Regions from separate parts of the Homo sapiens genome. Here region 2 is linked to region 1. Evidence: promoter capture Hi-C in human tissues and cell types (Jung and others, 2019). All regions are on one chromosome and are shown on one strand. Each heading gives the region's core, a stretch centred on a gene start or on the middle of the fragment in contact. The rest is flanking DNA. Distances are from core to core; before and after follow the strand shown. Region 1 holds the start of DEFB103B (defensin beta 103B). Region 2 has its middle 12 kb from the start of ZNF705G.

Region 1 (4,573 bases), core at 1,550-4,049:
CCCACCACCAACACTTCGGGGCCTTGCTTCCTTCTAGGCACCCTCTCTCTGCTATTCTGCCCTGGAAGTGGGGGTGTCTTGTGCTTTGGGAAGTTTGATTTCAGTCTCTTCAATGCTTCAGGATTGCTGGACTTCGTTTGAGTCTTCCTCTGTGTGCTGTGGTCTGGACCCTGCTGCTGTAGTGAGCTGGGGGCAATCGAAAGTCTCACTTCATTGGTCTGTTGCACTGCTTATTATCCAATGTCTGAACACAGCTGTCACACATCTTGACAGGTTCCCTTTTGTCTGCTGTCAGAGGGAGATTCCCATAGCAGTGAGTCCATTTTGGATGGAAAGTGAGGAGCAGTCTCATCTTTTTGAGCCCTTGAGCCTTTCTTCCTAAGAGCCTTGTTGTATTGTCTTTTCTCCATACGTGGAGCCATGAGTGGGGTCTGGTGTCAGGTATGAAAAACCACACACTCCATTTGCTGGAATCCTACTGCATCAACGTTGAGAGAGCACTAGATAGTTAAACTGCAGTACCTCCAAATCATTTGAATGATTAAAGATAATTCAATCAATAAATCGTTTGAATGTACTTCAATTCATAAATACTTGTTGAGCAGCCTTCATGCTCAGGGCACTTTACAAGCAGTACAGGAAGAATTAAGACAAACTCCTTGCTTTTAAGGCTCACAAAGTCTAATATGGAGATTGGCAATATGTCACTGTACGCAATGTAAAAACCAAGCAAGGGTTGTAGATGGAGGACTCAAGTCAGAACCCTGTGGTGAACCAGAGGAAAGACTGTAAGCATTTGGGAAATCACCTGTGTTTTTAAGGTGGAGATAAAATGTGAGACGGTCCCTGAAGGACAGGTTAAAGTTTAGAGATGAAGTTGGAGGAGTGAGGCAGACATGAGGTCAACCAGAGCAGAGGCATGGGTGAGAGAAAGCAAAGTGAATATCTGAGGAAGAGCCAGTTTCCTTATTTCTCTGAAGACAAAGTTTTTGGAAGGAATTGGGATAGCCCCTGAGGGATGCATGAAAACCTTAGAGATAGATTTGGTGGAGAGATGCCATTTGGGGTAGAGGGACTGAAAAGGCCCAAGGCTTGGATGACATGAAAGCAAAGGGCATATTCCAAGAGAGTGAAGAGTCCAACTTCACTGGGGCATAACGTTCACAAAGTAGGAATAGAACCTGATAACCCTTGGATAATAAGGTTGGGCTCCCTTATAGATTTCTCCAGAGATTCTACTTTCTTTGAACGAAAGGTGAGTCCTTAAGATTTTCTGAGTTGTCTGTTTGGAAACAAGTACCAAAATAATCAGATTTAAAAAAAAAAATCAAGCTCCTAATTTTTTTTGAAAAAAAAATGTAATTTGATTTTACTTTTATAAACTTTAAGAAGGCATTTCCACACTTTACAACACTCTCGTCATGTTTCAGGGTTTTTATTTCTTTCTTCGGCAGCATTTTCGGCCACGCGTCGAGCACTTGCCGATCTGTTCCTCCTTTGGAAGGCAGCTGAGCACAGCACACCGGCCGCCTCTGACTCTGCAATAATATTTCTGTAATGTGTTTATGATTCCTCCATGACCTGCAATGACAAAACAGCACACACGGAAAGGTTTTAGGAAGGCTTTTGGTACACGTACAAGGCTTGTGGAATTCCTCAAATAACTCATCCCTTGCTTTTCTTGTATTCTTTTGTTTCTTTTTCCTTTTTCTATAAAATCAGGAGGAAGATGAAGGTATGACTACACAACCCATAGACAATGTTTCTAAGGCTGCAGCTCAGCTGTGGACCCACAGTGGCACCGGGGAAGTGGCGTGACCCTGTGACTGCCGCAGGAACAGTGGGGGTGCTGAGGCTGTGGTGTCCTCAGAGGTAGCCCCAACACTCCACCTCCAACCATTGCACTTAGTAGAACAGGAGCCTGTGCTTCTATTCTCAGAGTAAATCAATCTTTCCTGCTACATTAAACTTTTATGTCTGATTCATGTCTCATCAGCTGGTATAATAATCTTCCCTTGAAGAGTTGGGGAAAGAGATAGCTTTGGGGAGCTATTTAGTTTCTTAATGATTCTTTTCTTTTTTTTTTTTTTTGAGGTGTACTCTCACCCTGTCACCCAGTCTGGAGGACAGTGGCGTGATCTCGGCTTACTGCAACCTCCGCCTGCCAGGTTTAAGCAATTCTCTGCCTCAGCCTCCCGAGTAGCTGGGATTACAGGTGCCCGCCACTGTGCCCAGATAATTTTTGTATTTTTAGTAGAGATGGGGTTTCACCATCTTGGCCAGGCTGGTCTTGAACTCCTGACCTCGTGATCCGCCCACCTCGGCCTCCCAAAGTGTTGAGATTACAGGCATGAGCCACCGCACCTGGCCTCTTAATGATTCTTGTCTGAAAAAAAAGTGGTGATGCCTAGTTCCCATACAACAAACCTGCTTGGTCCAAAGCACTCTGAAGGATGGAGAAATACTGACTCTGAATTATATATTCTCAATTAGATCAATCCTTAGATTTCCCAGCCCATCTTACCTGGAACAGGCACCAAAAACAGGAAGAGCAAAGCAAACAGAAGATAATGGATCCTCATAGCTGCTAGGCTTCACCCCACGCTGAGACTGGATGAAAAGGTGTGCTTGGTCACTTTATAAAGGTTCCAGCCACAGCTGCAATTCTTGTCATATTACAGTGATGACATTATGACATGTTTTCTGATGCATCATTCCAATGCCTCTCACCATGCAGAACACACCCACTCACTCAGTTAATTAGGAACCCAATGGTAAGGCAGAGCTCCCTATGGATTTGTGGCTGTCCGGGTGCTCTCTGGACTCCAGGGGCTTGTCTGGGTGTGGGTCAGATTGGGTTGTGGGTACAGATAGGGCTGGCATGAGCAAGTATGCCCCCTTTGGGGAATAGTCTCAGGGCATGTGGCTGGGGGCTGACTTGTCCGTACTTTGCTGCTTTGGAGCTTTTTTTCTCTTCCTAAAATGCTGGGAGAGTCTAAGACCCTCCTGGGGACCAAATAAATCCAGCCCTGGACATATTCAATATCTGGCAATAGGACTGGCTTTTTGGTAGTGAGGTAAGGGAGGAAAATGGGCTACATTCAAGGTTAGCTGACCACCTGGCCCTTGGCCTATGATGGGGTGCTATAATTTGAGTGAAACATGTCTCATTCTTTCATTTTTTTTTTTTTTTTTTGAGAGACAGAGTCTCACTTTTTTGTGCAGGCTGGAGTGCAGTGGCATGATTACAGCTCACAACAGCTTGAGCTGTCAGGCTCAAGAGGTCCTCCCACTTCAGCCCCCTGAGTAGCTGGGACCACAAACGCATACCTCCACACATGGCTAAATTTTAAATTTTCTGTAGAAAATAAAATGGGGTCTCACTATGCTGCCCAGACTGGTTTCGAGCCCAGATGTGAACTCCTGGGCTCAAGCAATCCTCCTGCTTCAGCCTCCTAAATTGCTGGGATTACTGGTATGAGCCACTGTGTGCGGCCCATGTCCGATTCTTCATCATTGTCTAAAACCTACCAAATTTATGAGTAAAGAAGGTGTTTAATTTTACTTCATCAGAGAAAGAGGATGCTGGGATGATAGATTTAATAGACTGGCATCTCCTCCTAGTCAATGACTGTCCCTGTGCAAAAGAGGGGCTTCAGAATAGACATTTAAGACCTCAAGTTACTCTTGGCTCAGGAGCATTCAAGGCAGTCCAGGGGCCAGATGATTTCCCCTGCATATAGATTCAACGTTTAGAGGGAAAAATGCTAAAAAAGAAAAAAAAAACAGCTATTAAACTTAAATGTTCAGGAATCCAATGGATGGGTTGTATTTGGTTGACTATCAATTGGGAACTAAGTAAGTCAATGACAATTCAATTGGGAGCTGAAGTCACCGTGATGTCTCCTAGCTGCTGCTTCGTGTGAATGCAATTATAACGGATCCACTAAGGATCAAGGGTGTGTTAGTTCTGGGAGTGTGTGTTCAGAATTTGGGTGCACCACACCTGTCAGATTCAGTAAGAAAACTCTGAACACATACTATAGGAAGGGACAAGTATCATGTCTTCAGCATAGGTGAGGGTGAAGTGGATGAGATACCAAGAGGGACCAGTCTTGGTTCTTTCTCTCCAGAAGCTCCATGTAGGGCCAGGTAGATGGGCAGACAGTCAAATGATAAATTTAGGATGAATTATAATGGGAGTCATAGGAAGATTTCAAGCACAGGGCTGCAGAAACGTAGAAGAAAGATAACTCATCATAACTCAAAGATAACTCTTTGAGCCAAGAGTGGAGCTCAATCAGCAGATTTAAGACTTTAGATAGGTAGATGCTACTTTTTAAAATCTAACTTTCCTCTTTAGTTCATGATTTGAGACAAAGCAATTGGAGATATTTATAAATGGGGGAAGGAGGTGAGTGTGGGTGGGATGGGTGCTGACTTCACAGTCTTACTATGTCAGACATAACGATGGCATTGGGCGTTGTAGAGGGTTAGCACCAGCTCTCAGCCTGGGGTGAGGACAGTCAGACGCTGGAGATGACTTGCTTTTCCACATGGAGAATAGACTTCC
Region 2 (4,573 bases), core at 1,155-3,654, 33 kb before region 1:
TGTATCTCTTATAAATAAGAAAAAAATTCCCGCATCAATCACACTACCATTTATGCACATTAACAAGAAAATTTCCCTGGCCTGAACACTGGGACAGCAGCTGTAGGTGCTCAGGAAGCAAAGTGTCAGTAAATTATTGCAAAACAGAAGTCAGTGCATAGACATTGAAATTGTTCCAAGAATAGCTTCGTGGCTGTTGAGTTTTCTGGGTACATGTTCAATCCAGATTCACACATCGAATTAGGTTGTCACGCCTCTTTCCTTGTTGAGTAAACATTCTTAAGGAAATGCCATGGTATGTGGCAAGGGGCCTTACTGGAGTTATTACGTAACTCTTATATGTAAATAAGAGTTTGAGTTAAGAGAGTGGTTCCCATCTTTTTCATGTGTGGCATCACTCCTGATTGATACGTCCTTAATGACTGCTGTACTTAACATGATTATTATAAAAGTAATACACTTGCATTTAAAAACTCACCCATAGAAGAGTGTGAATTTCTCCTATAATCCCGTTGCAATCCCAGGAACCACTGACAGCACTGTGGTTTTACACTTGTTGTCCTCTCTAGCTCTCAGTACATTTGTGAGGCCTTGTTAGAGAAGGAGGTGAAATTGCTCTGAAATAGGAAAGTCACTGTGAAATGCAGCACCTGTGTCCCTGGGGAAGAAGCCACCAAGGCTTAGGGACCATGGGCCTGGTTGCTCAAGGACAGCTGGGCTGACTGTTCCCATGAAGATTCCTATGGTTGCAGCTATTCTTTTTTCCTGGCACAGCCCGATGTGACTCCTTCAGAGCAGTGTTCATCCTGGTGATACAGTGTGTTTGATAAAGATCAAGGGAGGAGCACTTTTGTCTTAAAGGTAGGGTTATTATCTTGCTTCAGCAAGGAAGACTATCCACCAGCACAGATATGGGTTTTTTCCCAAACCACAGGCTGTTTTCTGTGGCAAAGTGGCTCAGTTCCCCAGGCAAGAGTGGGCATTCCTTTAGATAGGCTCCCAGAAAGCAAAGTCTCTCATATCTATAATTTTAGAAAGCAAAGTTTCTCTGCACTGTGTCCTCAATGATAAATAACAGAAGCAGTTTTACTGGCTCTCAATTCTGGAGCCAGGACCAGCTTCACGGGCTTGAGGGCTGGGCAGTGACACAGGGACCTGCCCTCAGAAGGGCCAGTGCCTGGTAGCAGGCTCTGCCGACACCCTCTTGACCTTAGTTTTTTTTCTTTGAACTTCATTTTGTAAGTGAAGCCCACTGAGACAATGGAGCAGGCACATGAGCAGAGTGGCTATGAGGGGGGACAAGGTGGGCAGGCTCAGGCCCAGGGACATGAAGGCCACATGTTGGAGCTTGCTGCCCTGAGCACGGGTGCTTTGGAGCGGCCCAGGCACATCTCGACTGGGAAGGAAGATGGCAACGGACCAGGATGGGAGGTGGCAGCCGCAGCAGCAGGTGTCCTCAGCCCTGGGGTGAAAGGAGGGTCTCTGTGTGGACGCAGCACTGACACCTCTGTGCCTGTGCATTCTCAGAGTCATCCTTGGAGCTTCTGCACGAATATCTACCCCCTGACCTGAGCACCAGGACAGGAATCATAGGGCTCAGATAGCAAATTGGGAGGAGAGAAGCACAAAACAAAAGTGTGCCCATGGACATTGTGAAAGAGTATGCCAGGGAGTTCTTGGAATTCCTCAGAGAGTTTAGAGTTCTTCAAGGAGTTATCCAAGGCTCAGAAATATAAATTAAATATATAATGATAGTCACAAAACTTCTGATGGGACAGGCATGGTGGGTCACACCTGTTATCCCAGCACATTGTGAAGCTCTGGTTAGAGGACTGTTTGAAGCCAGTTGTTGGAGACCACCATAGGCAGTATAGTGGGCAGTATAGTTAGACCCCAACATTAAAAAAAAAAAAAAAAGATTAGCTGAGCACAGTGGCACATGCCCGTAGTCTTAGCTACTTGGGAGGCTGAGGTAGGAAGATCATACGAGTTCAGGAGTCTGAGGCTGCAGTGAGCCATGATCATGTCAACAGATGGAGACCCTACCTCAAAAAGAAAAGAAAAGAAAAGAAAATAACACTTCTGATCAATCAATTATTAACAAGTAGAGCAATTTTAAAAATTCAGTTCTTCTTGTTAAAGATACAACAATAGAATTCAAAAACAGGAGTTTTGAGTAAGTTACAAATCATGACGCCACATTTGGTCTGCTGTGGGCCTCTGCAACTTACAGAACATGTCAGAAGATGCATCAAAATTCCATTGGAGAAATTTACACTTAAAATTAAATTCAAACTTCCATAAAACTGATTTGCTTAAACAGTTATATGCTTTGAAAAAAATAGCTCCACAAGAACCACCAGCTACAGATATACTAAAATTTGTGTCAAAATAGTTTATCCCAATATTGTCAGAGTTTAGATAATATTCCAGAAACAGTTGCTTCAGCAGATTCTTTTCAGAAGAAAAAATGAAGTTGCTCAAGGTATAAAGTTTGATGACCTAATAAATTAATTGCAGAAAAGTTGGCCAGAAAAATTGTTTGATTCATCTAGATCCAATTAATAAAGTATTATTATTTATTCTATTAAAACTGTGACACTGGTTTCTGGTGGGGATTTATATGATTCTGTTCTTACTCTTCTAGAAGTATTATCCCTATTACACTTTTCAAATGATGAAACATACTGGCTTGAGAAAGCTGAATACCCTCCTGCCTTTCACGACACTTTCTTCTGCTGCTCTTTGAACAAGGCGCCCTGCATTTCCACTTTGCACTGAGCCTTGGGAATTTTGCAGCCGGCCTTGCCGTGGCCATTTTTATACAAGTTATCTCATTTAATCCTCAGAAGCAAACATGCCAGGGGGTTATTACCCAAGTTTACAGAGGCAGGTCCTGGGGCCTAGAAAGGTTAGAGGACATGTTCAATGTCATCTGACTACTAAGTGGCAGAGATGGAATTTGAAATAAAATCCCTCTCTCTTCAAAGCCCATGTTCCTAACCAGCACCACACAATCACCATGGTGTCCTGATAACCTCCCCCTCTTCATCCTCCTACAACCCCAAAGCTACAGTAACGCTCTGCGTAAGGCCAGAGTCCACGCGGCTACTGTCACCCTCTCCCATCTCCTGAGCTGAGCGGTGAGTCCACAGCCTGGCCCGGCCTTGCAGGAGGTGAGGGAATGAGCGCGCAGTTACTGCCACCTCGTGGCGGCCTGACTACATGACCCTGAAACGCAGACCTAATCTGTTTCCTGCCTGCCTGAAGCCTGGGTGTGCACCTGAGACTTCTAGTAATTTCCTTTTTCCCCTTAAGGAACCTATCGAGAGTTCTCACAATTTTATGCATTCTCTCAAGCAAGTAGCTTTCGTTTATTTATTTTTAATATTCTCTTTTGTGTCCACATTCTTTTTTATTCACTCGTTTTCCTATTTACTTTCAGCTTAATTAGTTCTTTTTTCCCCAGGTTTTTTACAATGGAATATTAGATTGTCTATTTCTGAGCTTTCGACTTCGCATCATAATAGCAGTTAATGTTATCAATTTCCCTCCAAGCACTGCTTTTGTTGTATTGCCACAAATTTTGGTATGTTATGTTTCCATTTGCTGTCATGTGAAAATATTTTTAAATTTCTCCTTTGACTCATTAGAAATATGTTGAGTAATGTCCAAATATGTGAGGAATTTTCCAGCTATTTTCCTTTAGTCACAGCTTCATACATTCCACTGTGGATAGACATTACGCTACATATGATTTTAAATTGTTTTGATTTTTTTGTTTCTTAGTCCAATATGAGCTCTCTTAGGTAATATTTCAATGCATTTTACTGTTATTGGGAGGAGTGTCCTGTAAAGCTTATATAGGTCATAATGGATGATACTGTTGTTCAAGTTCTCTCTATCTTTATTTATACTTTGCTGCTAAAAAAACTATTTCAAAGAAAAAAGTGTTGAAATATTCAATGGTAATTCTTAATTTTTCAATTTCTTCTCTTAGTTCTATCAATTTCTTTTTAAAAATTTTGAGATTCTCTTATTAGGTGCATACTAATTTAATAATAATGATATGTGTTCTTGGTGATTTAACAACTTTATCACTGGAAAACATAGGCTCTTTATCAGTAATAATACACCTTGCTGTAAAATCTACTTTGATTTATAGTCAGTTAGCCGATACAGCTAATTCTGTTTTCATTAGATTAATGTTTCCATACTATAACTCTTTCTGTCCCTTTACTATCAACCTATCTTTGTCCTTATATTTGATAAAGACATTGGGTTTTTATAGACAGCGTGTATTTGGGTCTTGTTTTATACTACAAGTTTGCTAGTGAGGAATTCTCTTAGTTTTTGTTATTGTCATTAGAAAATGCCTTTACGCGGTGGGTCACGCCTGTAATCCCAGCACTTTGGGAGGCCGAGGTGGGCGGATCTCGAGGTCAGGAGATCCAGACCATCCTGGCTAATACGGTGAAATCCTATCTCTACTACAAATACAAAAAAATTAACCGGGCATGGTGGCGGGCGCCTGTAGTCCCAGCTACTGGGGAGGCTGAGGCAGGAGAATGGC

The links. Contacts are between HindIII fragments. The study calls those that stand out against the background at their distance.
Region 2: a fragment that was not itself captured here is called in contact with the fragment with the promoter of DEFB103B in region 1 in 4 of the 25 tissues and cell types used here (H1 embryonic stem cells, mesenchymal stem cells, mesendoderm cells and 1 more).

The regions. Positions count from the first base shown.
Region 1 is chr8:7,427,549-7,432,121 of GRCh38, forward strand. DEFB103B (defensin beta 103B) reads right to left here and starts at 2,800. Exons shown (of 2, transcript NM_018661.4): 1 at 2,525-2,800; 2 at 1,340-1,581. The coding sequence starts at 2,582. The coding sequence ends at 1,436. The HindIII fragment of the contact is 16,895 bases long and covers 1-4,573 here.
Region 2 is chr8:7,394,776-7,399,348 of GRCh38, forward strand. No RefSeq gene overlaps it. Among named protein-coding and RNA genes, the nearest start is that of ZNF705G, 12 kb to the left of the region's middle. RefSeq lists enhancers at 833-1,409, 1,410-1,986. The HindIII fragment of the contact is 6,506 bases long and covers 1-4,573 here.